Regions from separate parts of the Homo sapiens genome. Here all the other regions are linked to region 1. The links are contacts of gene promoters, found by promoter capture Hi-C in blood cells and fetal thymus (Javierre and others, 2016). All regions are on one chromosome and are shown on one strand. Each heading gives the region's core, a stretch centred on a gene start or on the middle of the fragment in contact. The rest is flanking DNA. Distances are from core to core; before and after follow the strand shown. Region 1 holds the start of SEC23IP (SEC23 interacting protein). Region 2 overlaps CACUL1 (CDK2 associated cullin domain 1). Region 3 overlaps CASC2 (cancer susceptibility 2). Region 4 overlaps FAM204A (family with sequence similarity 204 member A).

Region 1 (5,224 bases), core at 2,410-4,909:
GTAGTAAAGAAAAAACAGTGTACCCTATTCCTTTAAAAGCCAGAGTAAATTTAAAACCTATAATTGATAATTGAAGGTCTTCTCCATGACCCTGTAACACTCCAACACCACCTGGTTGTCAGTGTAAACAAGGGCATAGCCCGAAAGCACTGAGGCCACTGACAACCCATAGCCTTCCTATCAAAAATCCTTAACCCAGCAGGTTTCCTAACAGGGGATCTAAATCTTAATTACCATACAAAGGTCCAACCAGATCTAGGAGGAACTCCCTTCAGGACAGGACTATAGCTGGTTCCTCCCCAGCGATTAAGGGAGAAAGACACAATGAGTATTCAGTAAGTGATAAGGAAACTCTTGTAGAAGCAGAGTTAGGAAAATTGCCTAATAATTGGTCTGTTCAAACGTGCTCCAGCTATCAGTACTCAGCCAAACCTTAAAGTACTCACAGAATCAGGAAGAAGCCATCTATACCAATTGTAAGTTAATATGGATTGAACAAGGTCTTATTAATACAAAGAATAATTGAAATCCCAAACTTACAAGGTTTTCAACAAAAGTAAAGTTTGCTAAAAGTTAACAGTGTAACATATATTATCCTACTACCACACACTCTCAAAGGATTTCTCAGACAGTTTGCAAGAAATAACAAAATCTATCCTTATTCTACAATTCCAAATAGACTCTTTGGCAGCAGTGACCCTCCAAAACCACCGAGGCCTAGACCTCCTCACTGCTGAGAAAGGAGGACTTTGCACCTTCTTAGGGGAAGAGTGTTGCTTTTACACTAACCAGTCAGGGATAGGATGAGGTGCCGCCTGGTGTTTACAGGAAAAGGCTTCTGAAATCAGACAACGCCTTTCAAACTCTTATATCAACCTCTGGAGTTGGGCGATATGGCATTTCCCCTTTCTAGGTCCTGTGATGGCCATCTTGCTATTATTCACCTTCGGGCCCTGTATTTTTAACCTCCTTGTCAAATTTGTTTCCTCTAGGATTGAGGCCATCAAGCTACAGATGGTCTTACAAATGGAACCCCAATGAGCTCAACTAACAACTTCTACTGAGGACCCCTGCACCAACCCGCTGGCCCTTTGACTGGCATAAAGAGTTCCCCTCTGGAGGACACTACAACTGCAGGGCTCCTTCTTCAACCCATCCAGCAGGAAGTAGCTACAGAGGTCATTGCCCAATTCCCAACAGCTCTTGGGGTGTCCTCTTTAGAGGGGGGATTGAGAGGTGAAGCCAGCTAGACTTCCTGGGTTGAGTAGGGACTTGGAGAACTTTTCTGTCTAGCTAGAGGATTGTAAATGCACCAATCAGTGCTCTGTGTCTAGCTGAAGGACTGTAAATGCACCAATCAGCACTCTGTAAAAACACACCAATCAGTGCTCTGTGTCTAGCTAGAAGATTGTAAATGCACCAATCAGCACTCTGTAAAAATGCACCAATCAACACTCTGTGTCTAGCTAAAGGATTGTAAATGCACCAATCAGCATTCTTTACAATGGACCAATCAGCGCTCTGTAAAATGGACCAAGCAGCAGGATGAGGGCAGTGACAAATAAATAAATAAAAGCTGGCCACCCGAGCCAGCAGCAGCAACCCAGTCAGGTCCCCTTCCACGCTACGGAAGCTTTGTTCTTTCGCTCTTCACAATAAATCTTGCTGCTGCTCACTCTGGGTCTGTGCCACCTTGAAGAGCTGTAACACTCACCACAAAGGTCCGCGGCTTCATTCTTGAAGTCAGTGAGGCCAAGAACCCACCGGAAGGAACCAACTCCGGACACATGACCACTGAGAACTGTCTTCTCAAGGACCTGGGGGTTTGTCTCTTGAATTGCAAGCCTTCAAGGAGGTGGTTCTCATTCTCATTCCCAGTCCCTGTGGCTACCTTGCTCTCTTACACCACTGCTTGTCATGAAGACAGAAAAATTATGTCTCCTCTGGATAAGCATGGATTAACACACCCAGATGGCCTAGTTGCAGGACGAACCAACCCTTCACACTCCTCAGCACCTTTCCCTTAGCACACCACAGCCTCTAAAAAGCCTCCAAATTTTTGTTTCAGCAAAGTTGTGTTCAGTTCATGCTGGACCCAATTCCCTAGCAATAGTTTTCATTAAATAAAATCTAATTTACTGCTTTAACGAGTGTCCCACTTAAAAAATTTTTCTTGACAGTAAGCACATGAAATCGTTATTGAATTAATAAACTTAGGTTCTATATATGTGTAAACAGCTGAGCAGAGTTTCATTATTTTGAGCGTTCTTTTGGTATCTCCTCTCCCAACCTCCAAGAAGCTGAAATATGGCTTAAGTTATATTTTCCTTCAAAATCTCTAACTATGAAAGATGACAATTATGTCCAAGTTATCCACAGTACCTCCTGGATTGAAGTAAGTCAGCTTACTGTGGATATAGAAAGCTATCTAAAATGTCAGATCTCTAATTTCAATGCCCTGGTTTCTTTTTTTTTCTTTTTTTTTTTTTTAAGGAGACAGGGTCTCGCTGCACAGTGAGTGGCAAGATCAGGGTTAATTTGGCCTCAAGCAATATTCCCGCCTCAGCCTCCTGAGTAGCTGGCAATATAGGTGCTATGCCACCAAGCCCGGCTAATTTTTGTATTTTTAGTAGAGACGGGGTTTCACCATGTTGGCCAGGTTGGTCTCAACCTTCTGGGCTCAAGCTATCCTCCCGCTCTGCCTCACAAAGTGCTGGGATTGCAGGCCTGCGCCATGGCGTCTGGTTTGATTTCTCTTTTAAATATTTTTTTTGGCCAGGCGTGGTGGTTCATGCCTATAATCCCAGCAGTTTGGGAGGCCAAGGCGGGCAGATCACGAGGTCAGGAGATTGAGACCATCCTGGCCAACCCGGTGAAACCTCGTCTTTACTAAAAATACAAAAAATTAGCCAGGCGTGGTGGCGGACGCCTGTAGTCCCAGCTACTCGGAGGCTGAGGCAGGAGAATCGCTTGAACCCGGGAGGCGGAGATTGCAATGAGCCCAGACTGCACCGCTGCACTCCAGCCTGGGCGACACAGCAGACTTGTCTCAAAACAAAAAACAAAACCAACCAAAAAAACAAAAAACAAATGCAAAACAAAAAACAACAAAAATAAAACGAAATATTTTTTTCTCCCTATGGATTAAACACTTAAAAAATGTTTTACCACTTCTATTTCTGGGTCAACCACAATGTTCGGTTCCATCCAGAAAGACAAGTGGGTTTTGGAGAGGGTGTTTGGTTCCGCCTAGCATGCGAATTCCCATTCCCGCACAACGCTCTTCCTCCCTTCCTCCTTCCGGTAGCGTCCAGCAGGATTCCGCTGTTCCTCCAAAATCTTTGTCAGGAGAGCCATCCTGACGGTACCTTTAGGAAGCCCATAGATACCCGCCACAACCTGTGACTTTCAGGGTCAATTGCGTCTCAATTCGCACGTCTATCCAGAACCTGCGGGGACCACGTCCCCATCCTCCCGCCCGGCCTCCGCCTCCGAGGGTGTCACGTGCTAGACGCGGGCGTGAAGACAGTGTCGCCATGTTGATATCTGGCGTCGCCGTGTAGGGGAAGGGAGAGGGCGGCTGACTAGCTACCCGTAATTTCGGCTCCTGTGCGCAAGTGCGGAAGTGCGCTGGCCAGGAGCGTGATCGGTTTCCGGTCAGTGGTGTGGTACCGGGTACCCGGAGACGTGTATCGGACGGTGGGCCGCAGCCATGGCCGAGAGAAAACCTAACGGTGGCAGCGGCGGCGCCTCCACTTCCTCATCGGGCACTAACTTACTTTTCTCCTCCTCGGCCACGGAGTTCAGCTTCAATGTGCCCTTCATCCCAGTCACCCAGGCCTCCGCTTCTCCGGCCTCCCTGCTCTTACCGGGAGGTAATAAGGGGAGGGCGGCCCCGTGTGTGGTGGGAGGCGGGCGGGGGACGTGCAATGACAAAGGTCAGACGGGAGTTTTTCCTTCTGCCTCGAGCTACCCTCTGGATAGCTTGCCAGGATCATTACTGGCCAGGTTTGAGTGGGTCGGGGGCTTTGGGATCTTGGAGGTGGCAGGTGATGAGACTTGCTCTTCACGGAAACCCCCTGTTCCGAGTTGTCCAGAGTGCTGGACATTCATTCGTACCCTGGCATTCCGCAAATCTTTGCTGAATACCCGTTGTTGGTACGCCAGGTGCTGGCAGGAAATGCAAATAAATTAAACAGTGGCCCTCTCCTAGGGTACAGTAGTCTGTCTCCCACTAGGAGACTCCTAGGATACGGTAAGATACCTCCTAGGATGGACTGTGCCCCTCTCCTAGGATACGGTACACTGTCTCCTACTAGGAGATTGTTGTGATACAGTACAATATCTTCTAGGTTACAGTAAGATATCTTATAAGATGGACTGTGCCCCTCTTCTAGAAGCCTGTAATATTTGTGAAGTAGACATATACAATGCATTCCTTATCTTTTTTTTTTTTTTTTTTTTTTTGAGACGGAGTCTTGCTCTGTCGCCCAGGCTGGAATGCAGTGGCGCGATCTCGGCTCACTGCAGCCTCCACCTTCCAGGTTCAAGTGATTCTCCTGCCTCAGCCTCCCGAGTAGCTGGGACTACAGGCGTCTGCCACCATGCCTGGCTAATTTTTGTATTTGTAGTAGAGACAGGGTTCCACCATGTTGGCCAGGATGGTCTCAATCTCCTGACCTCAAGTGATCCGCCTGCCCTGGCCTCCCAAAGTGCTGGGATTACAGGTTTAACCCCCCACCCATTCCTCATCTTTCAAGACAATACATCACTTCTTCCAAGAAGCTGTTTCTTGTTCTCTTAGGCCCCCACTCCTATGTGCACTCCTAGCTCTTTTTTCATATTTGTATTATTGTCCAGGGAGATTGCTTTTTGATGATTATGTAGCATTGCCCAGAGCATAGTGTTTAAGAGCACAGACTGTCTGTATTCCAGTCCTTGCCCTGCCAGTAACTTGCTGTGTGACTGTAGGCATTTTACTTTACCTCTCTGTGCTTCAGTTTCTATGTATGTGTAGCCTCACAGAATTGTAATTAGAAATGCTTTAATTTTTGCAAAGCGCTAAGTATAGTGCGTGCCAGACAGTGTGATTTAATGTTTGTGAAATAAACACACCTGCCTCTCCATTTGGACTGCAGTCTTCTTCAGCAGCTATGACCTAATTGCCTTTTTATCTCCAGGATCTTATTTAGGGCCTAGTACATAGATCCTCTTTGGATGCTGA
Region 2 (5,161 bases), core at 2,153-4,652, 1.2 Mb before region 1:
TTGGGGAAAAAAAACACAAAAAAACTAAGCTATCTCAGACCACAAGTTGTGAAGAACAATATCCAAGCCCAAAGCACACCCCAGCATGTGCTATAAACTGTGGTTATTTCAAAACTGCTGGGGTGCTTCCTAATTGTGGTATAGACCCTGGTAATCTATTGCTGAGTGACTTTTCTTTTTTTTTTTTTTTGAGACGGAGTCTTGCTCTGTCGCCAGGCTGGAGTGCAGCGACGCAATCTCGGCCAACTGCAACCTCCGCCTCCCGGGTTCAAGCGATTTCCCTGCCTCAGTCTCCTGAGTAGCTGGGACTACAGGAGTGTGCAATTTTAGTAGAGACGGGGTTTCACCATGTTGGCCAGGATGGTCTCGATCTCCTGACTTCGTGATCTACCTGTCTCGGCCTCTCAAAGTGCTGGGATTGCTGAGTGATTTTTCTAGACATTCTTCTACTTCTATACCAAAAGCAAAGTGGGATCAAGCCCTGGTATAAAGATTATTTGGTTGGTGCAAAAGTAACAGAGGTTTCTGTCATTATTTTCAAAGGCAAAAACCACAATTCCTTTTGCACCAACTTAATAATACCTGATCTTCAAGCACTGAAGGTTTACTGAAGTGGGCAGGGGGAGGATCAAGCTAAGTGCTCCCTTAAACAGGAGTTTTTCTGCAACCTGCCCCAGATTTTAGAGCTGAGATGATGCCTATTTACAGGAGGTTTATCAATAAAGTGTTTACTTCAGTTGTTTATATTGAAAGGTATTATAAATCAGTAGGCAAACCACTCTTCAAAGATGATAATACGAGTTCCAAAACAAGTTAAAATATGCACATATTTTTGTATCATAAAAGTCACCAAATATTGACATTGACAGAAAAAAATAAAGTTTTAAATAAAAGAAATGTTGACATGATAATCAATAGAATCAGTTAAGGTCTGAAATATATTTAATCCAAAAATTTCCACAATTTATACCAAATTTTCAAATTAACAATCTATTCCAAAAATTACATGATTTGATCAACATTCACCTAGAAAACATTTATAAATTTATATCATAATCAAATTAACAAGCTTCCAAATGTGTATTAGAAAAGCTAACTGCAACCAGTCAGGAAAACCCAAGGAAGCAAAAATCAATACAATCAGTTCTTTACCTGCAGCTCCTTTGAGACTCTCTCTAAGTGATTAGTTATCTTTTTAATCAGATCACTATACATCTGTTCCGAGTGCTGCTGGCATACACATTTATACACACAACTGTAAAACAAACAAAAACCCCCACAAACCAAGTTAATCATAAAGCACTTAACTCAGTCCAAGGTTAAAGCACACTTTTGATATATAACCACTGATCCAATAATTCATACCTTCAAAAAGTAACCAATCACAACTTTTAAATAAAAACTTTATCCTCCCCCATCGGTGTTCGGATGGAAAAGATAGTACCATCTGCTATAAATATGCCCTTCTAAGTAGTGTATTACACATTTAATCAGTACTAGAGAATCTAATAGTAGGTGAGAATCTAAGGTCTGAATATGATAACTATTTATAAACCAGGTTCTCTCTCTCTTTTTAAATGAATGTCAAAATAAGGAAGAGAGAGTGGTTGATAATCAGTAGAGAGAGGTTTCTAACTCACGGAAGTGTTTGCAATACAACCTCTTTGTACATCAGCTGTGTGGAACAACATACTTGTCACTTCCTCCTTTCACTGTGCTGATCTCATATCCCACCCCACTTCCTAATTTGCTGCTTCCATTAACAGGAGCTGAGAAACAAAATAACCAAAGAGAGTTAGAATTGTGTGTCAATAAACACCAACAGATTAAGGTCTCCCTCTGAGACTAAAAATATGATTTTTACACCAGATACTTCAGTCATTCTTGCTTTTATTGCTGACTTCCACAGTGTCTGCATTATGTATGGTGGAGGTGGCAGGCTTCCTCTGTCATGATCTGAAAACCACTTTTGAATCAAAAAGTATAAACCAAACCCTCCAATCCGTAAGTGTGGAATACATAAAACACTTACAGAGCCTCATCTTATGCATTCTACATTACATGTTTGTGTGAGGCATAATTCAAGTGCCTTGAACCTTAGTATACCCTTTCAAACCCAAGCAAATTAAATCTTAACTTACCTGTATATCTGTTCATAGGATATGGGGATATAGTCACCAGGACTCTGAGTTAAAAGTTGATCTATGGCACCATCCAATTTTGGCCAGTATGTGCTCTTATAATCTTCAATAGTTATAACATTCATTACTAAAAGTAAAAAGTAAAATAAATATTACTACGTGCCACATGTGGAGCAAACACAAATCACAGCCATTTTGCACTCTCAAATTCCTCTCACTTACTCTTCTGATTTTACACTGACACTCTATCACCTAACTATCCTATTTCAATTAAAAACAAAAAAGGCAACCTGGTCAAGGATGTTAAGCAGCCATTAATCATGGATTTAAGAGAAGTTAGTATGAACCTGTCCATCTTTAAAAATAACAACCAAACAAGCAATCATCACTGGCTTCCTTCTGGGTTTCCTGTAAGCTTCTGTCATTAGTGGAGCAGTCTCAAACATGCTCTGACCCTCAAATACACACTGCCAATTATGTGACAAAATGGCCTATCAATGAACCACAGGAAAATTTGGAGAAATCGTGAACACCAACAATCAATCTTTGTAGACATCCTCGAGGAAATGTGCCTAAGGACAGGACTATGAGGATTAAGGTCCAAATGCTGCAATCACAAAGAGGTTGCTGTAAAACTTGCCGAGATTTACAACAACACCAGCACCTCTTCATCATTACTACAGCTCCAACTCAGGCTGCTACTATCTTAAACTGGATAAGCCCAACAGAAAAGAAGTCAGTGAACTGGGACCCTGCGCTGAGGCTTACTTCATTCCTACAGACAGGCTCTTACTCCCACACTACAGGTTTCCACAAAGCATTTGTACAGTGGATCCTAACAGCTTTGAAATCCAGGTAACAGTTGCTTCACGGCACTGAAATGTTAATATTAAAAAAAGAGCTACCAGAAGAACCTGCCTATATTCTGTGTCATGAATCACAGTTACCTCAGGAGTAACAACAACGAGACCAGGTATTTCACTGTTTATTTTACCAGACTAGGAAGCAGAGTGGTTAAGTGACTTCCTCAAGAACTCAAGGCTCATTACTGTCAGAGATACCAGGTAAAGCAAAGCCTTCCCAGTATCTTTTTATCACATTATCGATTTCCACACCTTAGTCATCCAGGTTCAAGATTTTTTTCTATGTACCATCTATATCATTTTTGTTCAATACTTTCTTTAAATCAATCCACTTCTGTTATTTAATTTTATTTTACAGGACATCTGAGGAATGAACTACTGAGGAATGTTCACAAAACAACATGGCATAATCTTAAATCCATTTTGCTAAGTGAAAGAAGCCAGACCCAAAGGGCTACATATTCTAAGAGTCCCATTTACATGATACTAATAAAGGCAAAACTATAGGGAGGAAAACAGATCAGTGGTCGACAGGGGCTGGAAGGTGGGGAGAAGGATTATCTATAAAGCAGTAGCATGGAGGAATTTTTATGGCAATTAACTGTTTTGCATGAAACTATGGTGGGGGATACACCACTTCACGCATTTGTCAAGACCAAAAGAACTGTACATCAAATTACTATGTAAATTTAAAAAATCAACAAGGCTGTAGTGGTAAAGATGAAATGCAAAACACAAAAAATGAACCGAATTACAAATGAATCACATAACCCACACTGAATGGAATGGGGAATAAAGGAGTGTTTTGACTAATGTAAAGCTAAAGACAAAAAGAACCGTACATGCACGTGCGCAAACATAACAGTAGGAAGAGGCCAGACATGTAGGTCCTTATGGGCCATTGTAAAGACTTTGACTTTTACTCTAAGGTGGAAGCCTCTCTGGAGGGTTTTGAGCAGAGGAGTGACATGATCTGGCTTAGGTTTTATATGGATCATTCCAGCAGCTGTGCTGAGGGTAAACTAAGTTTGGAGGCTGTGAGCTGATATGGGGTTGGGCCAGATGGTGGCACTGAGGACAATAAGGAGAGATCAGATTTTGAAGATATTTTAAAAACAGAGTCAACAAGATTTGCTGATAGATTAGATGTGAGATGTGAAAGAAAGGTCGAGTGGCTCCAAAGTTTTTGGCTTCAGCACCGAAGGATGGGGTTGTCGTTTACTAAAATGAGGAAGACTGCACGAAAAGCTTAGCTGTCCAGCGGGCATAGCAGATACTGTTGGTGCCCCACCCATTTACCCCATCCACACCCTACGACTACTTCTCTCAATGTTCTGTCCAGCTGCCAGAGCTTGCTCTGCTTGCGGGAGGAGCAGGTAAGAAATTGTGGGAGAATTAACCCCAAAGCAGCCTTCAACCAATGACTACTGAGGATTCAGTGTCATTACCACCAGTAGCTCCCTCTCCTTTTGGGTGAGGCGACTCTAAGGCCCCTGTGCTATACTGACTCCCAGAGCTCCCCACTGGTACTAAGCTCCAGCTGCCTACAGTGGTGACTTTACCTTACTGGCTTCCTTACCTTCCCTGCCTCACTTCCCCAATCCCCCTAGAGCTGCTTCCCAGGGTCACCGTCTTGCTCTTGATACTGAAAAGTGTTACACACTAGGCTCTAGAATATGACCTTTGTATTTATGTAATCCTTAGGATTCAAAGAAAACTGAAAAAGAAATTACATTCTCACTGTGTGATTCTGAGTTACAGAATCCCTTATCAGTGTACCACCTAAACCACATGAAATACCTCTCTACACCGAAAGTTGAGAGTTGAAGGTTAGATAACACGCTCAAAAAGAAAACTGCAAGTAGTAACACCAGTAATTAACATACCTATCTTCTGGGCTCCTAAAATGCTTAGTTCAATAAACCACATGCTATGGCTCCAGCTGGGAGCACTCCTACTTCTCAAGCACAGGCTTCGCACTTTAGCAAATCACCAAGTCAAAGATATGAAGAAGAGGAAAAAGAAACCAAAATGTAAAGTCCTGCAGTTCTAAGTACAGAATGGGGACTCACTACAGAAACAGTGACTGCTGATGCTTTTAAATATCTTTGAAAAGAGACTTAAAAACCAAATTGAAAAAGGCATGTGTCACAGTAG
Region 3 (5,051 bases), core at 1,705-4,204, 1.8 Mb before region 1:
CGCAAAGAAGCAAATTGCATTATAATTATCTAACTGAATTTGGTCAATATACTAAAGCAGATTTCCTTTTTATGTAACATATTAATAAAGAATTCTCTAATTCAGGAGAAAAAAATTATTTTTTAAGATTTCCTGACAGCTCTGTCTCCCAAATGAAGGTAATTAATGATCACAGAAAGCAAGTGAATATAAGTTTTATTAATAGGCTCTGCATGAGGCAATTGACACCAACAGCTCAAGATTTGGAAGAAATTGCATGTATGTGCAAGTGGTTTTGAGCAGCCTTGAACTTTTTAATTGTAGTAATAAGTTTATAACTTCTATCTGTATTATTTGTAGCTTTTTTGAACTGTGAAAATATGCTGAGATTGGTAAGAATTTACGGAGCAAAATACACATTTGCATATAAGAAGGTTTTGTATGGGAACATCTTTCAATTTCCTTTTCATAGTATCATAGTATTCCATTGTATAATTTTTATTCCTACAACAAAATGCATATTAATGCATAGAACACGAATTGATTAACTTTAACTGGTATATGGCATTGGGTGAGATGAATAAGCCCCATTTGATCTTTTCTCCTTCCAAAGGACATTTAAGTTATTTCCACTTTTTCAATTATCATAAACAATGCTGCATAAACATCTATATATCTCCTATGCACATATGCAGGGATTTGTTTTGGTAATTGATGATGAAATTATTGGGAGTTTGTGAATGAGAGTATGGAACACCCATGGGCCTGAGTATTAGACTTGAATTCTAATCCTGGTTCTACAAACTAAGGAGTTATAGACCTGGCAAGCCATATTCTGTCTGTGCCTCAGGGACTCCTTCCAAATCCAGAATTCTCAAACTCCTTTTGTTATATTTACTGAGAAGCAGAGATTATTGCTATTGGAAGAAGATTTTGTGACTACTTTGGTATTTGTCTTCAAATTTCAATTGTCTCATCATCATGAGTCTTTCTGAAATCTTCCAGAACATTGCTGCTTCTACAGATTTAGGTGCGGGTTAATAAGGGCTGGAGAGTTTTGATTATTCCTGAAGGCAATGATTAGCAGAGTTATATAAACTTATCATATTTGTACTTTGTAAACATCTGCTAAATTTTTTATGTTCAATTAAAATCCAAGACAGGGATATTTTTTAAACAAAGAACGGGGTATTCAAATTATAATATTTCTAGGACGGCCTGGAATCCATAAAATTTCTGGGATAATATTTCTGGAAATACATTCATTTAGAGAGCATTAAACCGGTGGGCGGATGGCAAAAACATTTTGTGGTGGTGGTTTTTTCCCCCATGTGAGATCGACTGTTCTCTGCCTTTCTACTTATTTGATCTATGTTAAAAAAAGTAAAGGGCTTTTGTTGTGTTTTGTTTTATTTGTTATATTTTGTGTGTTTGATATAAAGCCTGGGGGAAAATGACATTTTGAAGGATAGATCCAACTCTTCTTGTTCCAGGGCCAGATTTTAAACATTTCTCCTAAAGCAACTTTCAACTGACCTGAACAATGTTTTAGTCCATCTGGATATCTGATCATAAAAGCACTTTGGGCTTAGAACTGTATGCTTATCTTTTACACATTCTGGGTTAGGTCACCTTCAGTGCACCTATAGGTTGTTGCCAGTATGTATTATAATCATTTTCTGGTTATTGGAATGATCATGGCTGATCTGTACAGCCAAAACTGAGCATAAGATGTTGCTTAGCAATGTATACCTAAAGGAGATACCTCATTTCAGGAATTATGTAGTATAGTGGACAGAAATCTTCTGGCTTAAAAAACTAATGTTGTATATGACCTTGAGCAACTTAAAGTCCTCTTCCAGAAAACAGTGAATTTTACATTTCTTCTCTCTCCAAACTTGGATCTTGGGTTATCCAGAATGGCTTCCCAATAGATTCAAATCAATGAGAAAATGCATTTTACTGTTTTTTTTATCAAGTTTATGCAAGATGAGAAGGTATATGGATTGTGCAATTTGTGCCCATAACTATGTTCTTTTAACACAGGAAAATTAAGGAAGTTTTTCAAAGAACCCTATTCCGAGTAAGAAGTGTGTTGCATGAATTTCTAAGGTAGGTTTTGCCCAGATCACCTTTATAATTTTGATGGTCTTCATTTTCCTTTCTGTCTACACTTGGACATTGGAAAAAAAAATTGAGCAAGCTAGCTTTGTAAAAGTGAAGTCTTCTGAATTAGGCACCTCAGGAATCAAGGGCTTGTAACGCTTTCTGAAACAAGATTTGCTGCAAAGTTCCTTGGATGGAGACACTGAACACTGTTGAGTATTCACCCTGTGGTAGATTTTTGTCCCCGGGCACTAATAACAGTGTGACCTTGGGCAAATTGTGTAAACCTTCCAAATTTAGGTTTCCTCATCTGCAAAGTGGGTTGTTGGGAAGATTAAATAGGGGAATCAGGTAAAAGTACAGAGAGGGCCTGACACATAGGAAGTGCTCAAAAGATGCTTGTTGCTGTTGGCTTGATGATGTGTCCCTTCTTTTCCAAGTACTTACTTTCCTCCTATCTGAAGGCAAAGGCTACACAGCAATTGGTCTGGACTGTTCCTCACCAAATAATTAAGGATCCTGAGCTGTGGCAGGTGCCCCTGTAACCCAGCAATGGAGACCCTGAGTTATTTTTGTTTCAAGCCAAACTCAATGTTATTGGATACTCTTTTTCTAAACAAAAGTAACATAGAATAAGCCCTTAATAGTATTTCAAACCTTCTTTTAAAATTCAATAATGACTTTCTAGGTATCATTTTAACAACTTTATAAAAATGAATCAGATCCTTGAGTTGAAGAAAAATAACTCCTTACATTATATACCTATACGTAGCAAAATTGGAAATTTATGTAGTAGATCATGTACCAGGTAGTATTTTAATATTCTAGATTTTCACTTCAGAGAGAATTATGATAAATTTAAAAACAAAAATATAACGTCCTGTGAATCTTACAACAAACATTCTGCTAACCAGTGTATCCATACTCTCCTTCCCTTTCCTCTCCCTCTCCTCCTTTCCCCTCCCCTTTTCCCCTTTCCCCTCCCTTCCCTTCCCCTTCCCCTTCCCCTTCTTCTCCTTCTCCTCCTTCTTCTCCTTCTCCTTCTCCTCCTTTTCCTTCCTTCCTTCCTTCCTTCCTTCCAACAGAAATGTATTTCTCACAAGTCTGGAGATGGGAAGTCAAAGACCAAAGTACCAGCAGAATGGTTGTCTAGTGAGGGCCCTCTTCCTCCTAGATGACAGTCTTTGCACTGTGTCCTCAAGGGTAGAAGGAATGAGCCAGCTCTCTGGGGTCTCTTTTATAAAAGTGCTAATCCCAGTCAAGAGGGCTCTGCCAGGGGCCCTGCCTCCCAATATTATCACCTTGGTGCTAACCAATATTTTCTAACTTCCATTTGCTACTCTAATGTTAACTCTGTTATCTCAATTTTAATAATAATAATAGCTGACATTTGCTGATGACATGCCTTACACTGCATTCATTAACATCTCAATCTCATTTAATTTGAAAGAGATAAAGCAACAGCCAATACACACATTACCACTTTTTTTCCTATCCTGTTACAAAGGAGATGAGGTTGTGGGAGAACTCTCTTTAGGCATTGTTCACATCAGGACACTTGAGAAACAGATCCTTCATATCCTTTGGACAACTCTTGTACTTCAGTTGGCTTTAAGCATTATCAGAGCATCCTTGACATGATGCCAGGTCCTAACACCGCTTCAGTGAAAGCTCAGAGACAAGCAAAAGATAATTGATCTATTTTGTGCCGCATGACATACTCGATGAGCAGCAACATATACTGTGGTGTTTGGCCTCCATAAACTGCAGAGAAATTGAAATATAGTAATAAACTTTATGCACGGACAAAGGGTGACCTAGGATATCACTGAACTCTTCTGCCTTCATAACCAAATGTCAAAATGCTAATAGTCTGTTCCTTGTGGAAAAATGTTGAGTTTTCATTCGGGAGATCAGGACTTACACACTAACTCAACCTACAGTAGACACTTGCTAGAGAATAAAACACAATAATGCACGTAGAATCGTTCTGTAAACTGTAAAGAATTTTACAAATATGAAATTTTATTATGGTTTTAGTCTTGTATCTATTAAATGTATACCTATTAGCATGCACACTTTTTTCTTCTAGCATCAAAGGTTGCTTAAAATAACAGTGGAACATTTAAAAGCAAGAGAATTCTAATTTACCATCATTCAAATTATGTTAAATCCAACTCAACTTTATAAGCTAAGGAACATGTGAAGGATAAATAAAAATTTGATAGTTAAGAAGATAAATATATGCAGATAAATTATGTGATGAGTCAAATTGATTATTACAGGACAATATACTGTATTAATAAAACAGACTAAATTTAAATGTATTGTGCAATGGCAAACCTAGTGCCTTCTTGGAAAAACATGCCTTAACAAGCTCATGTGGTTGCAAGGTTGATAATATCTTGATAATAACTTATGTTGTTCTTATTCCTAGTAATTGCTGGCCTCCTTATGACCTTCCGCCTAGTTTCAGGCAGTAGCTAGGAGAGCTAGACTAACTGCTCCAGAGAAGTGAGGCCAAGGCATGCAACAGAGTCACTTCTCCGCTTTTCCATTTCAAAGTAGACAATAGGGGAAGATATAACAAAAGCCAAAATTTATGCAGTAAAGAAAAAATTGGGGAAGAATGCAATTAATGAAAGACCTACACTATACAAGGATTTCACTGGACGAAGTGAAGAATAGGGAGCTTGTAAAGAAGATCAAGATAGTTGGACAGGTGGAATGTCTCCAAGACCTTTCCACTCGCCTCCCCACTTGTTGAGCATGGGAGCTGGGCAAATGGATGATAGACCATCCAGATAAATTTTGGCATCTAAAAGTAATTGTCACTTGCATCTTGTTTCTCAAGAAGGACCTTGAAAGTAAGCAAACTCCTAGAGCTCCCTAATCCCATGCACCACATTGGCTTGGAGCAGCAACAGTAGCAGTAGAATAGCAGAGCAGGGGGACTCAAGGCCAAG
Region 4 (5,052 bases), core at 2,228-4,727, 1.6 Mb before region 1:
TTCCCTAGGATCTTTATCCATGCCTCTGCGCTAGCATTCTTTATATAGACAGTTTTTTCCATCCTTCAGGTCTCAGTGACGTGGCACCTTCTATGAAAGGCTTTCCCTGACCATCCATGCTAAAGTGAAGCCCCCATTTTAATATTTTCACAACAACCTGTTCTTTCTCTTAACAGTTTTTTAATAATTTGTAACTATATATTTACTTATCTAGCACCCTTTTTGGTATGCAGTAGGCATCTTTTTAACTGAATGAATTAATGAGGACAAGTACTTTAGGCGAGGCTAATCACAAACATATCCTACTAGCTGGTATAAGATGCAATAACAAAGATATTACCTTCTCAACTTTTTTCCTTTTAACAGGCGGGTCAAATCTATCATTGACTCCAAAATACTGAGTAAGCTCTTTCCACTGGGTTTCATTTGAGGACGGTTCACTAAAAGAAGATAGTAAGTTTTGTTTTATACAATATATACTGTCTTTACTTTTACTGTTTTTAATCGGTTACTACAATTATACTACAATTACTAGTTCATATGTTTGATTACTATCAGAAACAATTAGTTCAACAATTTCTACAATGGCCTAAAATAGATAACTATTTTAAATTCTACCTACCTATGTAATTCTTTTTCATTCTTCAATTTATCTGAAAAGAATTCACAAAGTGTCAATACCTAACTTCAGTAATTTCAAAACCATATTTTAAAAAAATGGTTAAACTCAGTCACAACTTAGCATTAGCACGACGAACAACCTGAGTTAAAACAAAACACCTTTTCTGGAGCGTTTTCTTCTTTTCCCTCTGAATCTTGAGGTTGTGCTTTTCTGTTCAGAATGTTTTTTATGCAATTCTTGAAATTTCTATGTAAAAGAAAAAAAAATTGAGAAGCAAATATACTTTCCAGAAAAACATGCATTTAAAAAATAATGAAGTAATAAAACAATTATATTTCAGCGTGTATAAAGATACCAATTTAATGATGGTAGTCAGTTCTTGAGATGCTCTATTCTCTGAGACTCACAACCTGAGTTTTGATATTCACTTGTTTTGAAATAAGTCATTTGATAATTTGAGAGTGAAGCTCATGTAGGTAACAAAAAAGATAAATAAAAGGTTAAATAAAGACAGAAACTACTCATGTACCACGCTAGGCAAACAGCTAATACTACATAGTGGTTTGGGTTTTTTTTTTTTCCCCCTCCGTCTTTCTATGAAAAACAAAACAAAATAAACGCAAGTATCTAAGTGGCCGATGCCTCAGAGAACAGTAAAAGCATTCTGAGTCCATCTCCCTCCCTGTTAAGTCCCAAGAATACATGCACATTCTGACCAGGGCAGAGACACACAGAGGCATGTGCACACACACAGGCTGTAGCAAGAGCATTTCAGAGAAAACCTACATTCCACATATCTATGGGAATTCCAGAAGGACACTCTTCATAGGCATTTACATTTGACTCTGTTTCAGTTTTTGGTTCATCTGTTGAGAAATCTATGATTTCTGTTTTTCTGATGCTCTCATCCTCTTTATCTTCCTGTAAGTTAAGTCCAGAGTTCTCCAACGTAGCTTCATCTTCCGAGTTTGACTCAGCGTCACTTTCATTTAGGCCAGGAGGTAGCAGCCCACTCCACATCTTTTCTTCTATGAGGAAAAAGATTAATTTACACATGTAGAATAACCATAGAAATAATTTTAAGACCATTAGAAGACATTCCAGGTGCCTAATAATTATAACAATGGTTTGGGAACAGTCCATCTAAACTTTTTTTTTTTAATCTAAAATGGCATAGAATGAACCTGTTATAAAATAATTAAAATCTTCACTTGTGTAAGTAAAAAAAAAGTTTAGAAGTTTAAAAGCTGTTTAAACAAGTTTGTTACAACATACACCTACAGGTAAAGAAAATAGAGCCTTGATTCTCTAATATATGAGTAGTTTTGTCTAAAAAAAACATGAAATTCAGTAAAGCATTGCTCAAGAATGTTAAAAACCTAACAACATACTTTGCAAGCAATTTAGGATTAAAATACCATATTTGAAGCTATACCAATTAGAGAATAAAACTGCATGTTTCACCTATATTTAATGGACAAAGCTTTCAGAGGGCGTCTTGTCTAAGGAGCAGGAAAATAACTAAAGGAAAATTTTTAAGCTACATAAGTAGTTGGAGGAAGGTATCGTAGTAAAAAGGATATCCTACTTTTTAGTTTAATACTGTTTGCTAAAATAATATTAAATGAAATATAATCCTAACAATTTAACAAAAATGTACAGCTTTTTAAAGTAACAATACTATATTTGGGAAACTAATGGTCAAGTTCAAGATAATATTTAGCATTAGCTATACAGTCCATTAGTAGAGAGAACCATTAAGTTTAATAAAATGACTTAAAATAGCAGAATTGTTATCATTTGCTAAAAGTATAATACTCAAGTACATACTCACTATTGATCTTCATGGCACAGTCTATTTTAGCACATATATTGAGCCAAAACCAGTTCCTTCAAAAGATGCTTAAAATAGAGAAGCCGGTTGTACTGCTCATGATTTACTATCAATATGAAGGAATAAAATGGAAGGACGGAAATTTGTTTTGCAGTTTTCTGTCCCATATTGTGATTAACCTAGTTAAAAAACAAACAAACAAACAAAAGAAACCACCATTCTCTCTGAGACAAACACATCAGGGATTTTGTGATAACAGATTTCTCTTATCTTTTAAAGACCTCCTTCCAGGTCCAAAGAATCAGATCTTACTTTTTGTGGCTTTGGTCCAGCCTCATCAGTTGCTGGCTCTCTGAAATATCCTCACCAAATATTCTGTTGGCTTTTTATGAGGAAGGACTCTGGCATCTAACTGCTCCAACTAGAATCTTAACTCTGACACTACTAGTAGTATGAGGAAATCATTTGACATCTCTGACCCTCAATTTCTTTATCTGTAATGCAGGGATAATTATACTGCTTATAGGGCTATTCTGAGGATTAAATGAGATAAGCCCCTCAACACAGTGTTTAGGAGGTCCTAGGGGCTCAATAAATGTTAAGTTCTCTTTGCTATTATTATTTCTGTGGCCATGTATTACATTTTTATCATTTCTATTATGAGTGACAGGGTTCATAAGATAGTTTTGAAGTTTCTAATAATTGTGGTGCACTCACTTAGCAACTGATGCAATCATTTGCTTCCTTGATAGTCACAATCTGATGTGAAGTGTCTATAACAAATGTTAGTGTTTGGTTTTCTGAATGGAGGAATAAAATGAGGGCAAATTACTAGGAAGATAATGGTAACCTTAAGCTCCAAGATTCCTCATCTGCACAGGTCCTTCCAAAGCACTGTACCTAGTTTTCTATTCAGAATTTACATTTCTTTGTTTAAAGGAAGAAACCCGAAGTTATATAAGCTCCAGGCCCCATAAAACCCAGATCTATCCCTAAACCTGTCTGTGGATTTTTAAAGTTGGGACAGCAGTACTCTTGAAATACTCCAATAGCACAAAAGACATCATGTAAAATATGCCAATATTGAAAAACAGGTGTCATGCTATTAATAAAAAAGATTTCTCCTGTTCTGAGAGCAAGGGGAAGGAAGCAGTAATAAGTTCCAGTATGACTTGGCCACCGCCATATAATATACCTTTAGGCTCATTATCATTTAAGGACTTAAAACAGTAACAAATTTCAGGTTTGGATTTCTTAGCATCACTGGAGTCTATGTTAGAAATAACTCTTTCCCTTCCTGTCCATAAAATATTTTACATGCCCACTTATGTGCCAGACACTCTTCAAGACCCTGGGGACAGAAGTATATAAAACAGGCAAAAATCCCTAGCCTCACGAAATGACAGCTATACACATAGCAAGTTTCTGCTCAGTTTTTGAGCCAAGTATTCCTTGACCTGGACTTTAGATGTGACTGCTCATGAAACGTGTATGCCTCTCCAATGGGCAGTGGCACAGGTCTCCTACTAAACCACTGTTTTAGCATCTCTGCAGGGTGATAGTCTATGCTCTGGGCACCCAAACATGCTTCCCTCTGGGAAGCAGTCTCAGTTGCCCCGAAGAAGGCATGCTTTTTGCTGTTGTTGTTGCTAATCAGCCTTCAAGTAGTTAGGCATTTTTTATGGCTTTTTAAATTTTCTCAAAATTATATATTTTTAGCTCCTGCTCATGTGGCATTAAAAACTGTCCTCAGTGTGGCATCTGCCTGGTATGATAATTTCTTGAGTGTACCCAAAGGAAAAAAAATTAAAATAGTTTGAAAAAGGTGGAATCCACCTCTAAATCCAGGCAAAATTCAAATCAGGTAGGTTTTGAATTCCACTCTTTAGAACCTTTAGTCATGTGCCATTTTCCTGTGACTCTCAAAAAAACAAATACAAGGGAGACTGAGCAGTCACTGATAAACACGGATAACTGCTGCCACTTACTGTGCAGCCTGCAAAATGGAGTTGCCCGTGTAAGCAGCAGCCCAGTTACAGATCAGCCAATATGGAGTGGCTGCTTAGTGACTTTTGCTTTGGACTCATGTTTCAAAACAGTCTTTCTATTCATAGCATATACTTGTCATTCACAAAGTTTCCAACTGGCACCATGTTAGGCCTCCTGTTATTCTTGTTTTGGCTGCTGTGGAGAATGATTCTCTATAAGTGTCTCTTACTTATGCCTTTCAGAGCGTATTTCTTTATTTTAAGGCAGATAATCCCAAGTTACCCTTTAACTGTGAAAATTCACTCAGCCTGTCTCCAGAAACGTGGAATATCAGAGAAACAGAAACTTAAATTTGTTTAGCATAGATTATAGCCAAGTCCATATAACAGCCAATGTATTAATTCATAAGCTTTCATTTTTTTTACCCTGCAACCCAAATAATTTTCAATTTAATCATTTTAGCCCCAAGGAAAATGTAAATGACTCAGAATCCTTTTTCTCTCTATGGTTTTGAATATCACTTTCTTCATTTTACACACCCTCCACCTCTAGAGTTAAGATTTATTCCATCCCACAATTATCCTCAAGACATTCTGTGTGTACTATG

The links. Contacts are between HindIII fragments. The CHiCAGO score rates a contact against its expected background, and 5 or more counts as called.
Region 2: a fragment that was not itself captured here is called in contact with the fragment with the promoter of SEC23IP in region 1 in 1 of 17 cell types (total B cells); the score reaches 8.2 in total B cells.
Region 3: a fragment that was not itself captured here is called in contact with the fragment with the promoter of SEC23IP in region 1 in 1 of 17 cell types (neutrophils); the score reaches 5.7 in neutrophils.
Region 4: a fragment that was not itself captured here is called in contact with the fragment with the promoter of SEC23IP in region 1 in 1 of 17 cell types (naive CD8 T cells); the score reaches 5.1 in naive CD8 T cells.

The regions. Positions count from the first base shown.
Region 1 is chr10:119,889,071-119,894,294 of GRCh38, forward strand. It overlaps SEC23IP (SEC23 interacting protein), which reads left to right and starts at 3,660. Exons shown (of 19, transcript NM_007190.4): 1 at 3,660-3,875. The coding sequence starts at 3,713. RefSeq lists enhancers at 36-574, 2,375-2,886, 2,887-3,397, 3,398-3,908. The HindIII fragment of the contact is 6,362 bases long and covers 1,632-5,224 here.
Region 2 is chr10:118,728,143-118,733,303 of GRCh38, forward strand. CACUL1 (CDK2 associated cullin domain 1) reads right to left here. Exons shown (of 9, transcript NM_153810.5): 2 at 2,142-2,268; 3 at 1,153-1,255. Among named protein-coding and RNA genes, the nearest start is that of CACUL1, 24 kb to the right of the region's middle. The HindIII fragment of the contact is 1,696 bases long and covers 2,555-4,250 here.
Region 3 is chr10:118,050,106-118,055,156 of GRCh38, forward strand. It overlaps CASC2 (cancer susceptibility 2), which reads left to right. Exons shown (of 4, transcript NR_026940.1): 3 at 2,026-2,091. Among named protein-coding and RNA genes, the nearest start is that of RAB11FIP2, 5.7 kb to the left of the region's middle. The HindIII fragment of the contact is 9,287 bases long and covers 1-5,051 here.
Region 4 is chr10:118,334,774-118,339,825 of GRCh38, forward strand. It overlaps FAM204A (family with sequence similarity 204 member A), which reads right to left. Exons shown (of 9, transcript NM_022063.3): 3 at 1,409-1,650; 4 at 781-868; 5 at 623-653; 6 at 341-440. The coding sequence starts at 1,642. Among named protein-coding and RNA genes, the nearest start is that of FAM204A, 5.0 kb to the right of the region's middle. The HindIII fragment of the contact is 2,749 bases long and covers 2,104-4,852 here.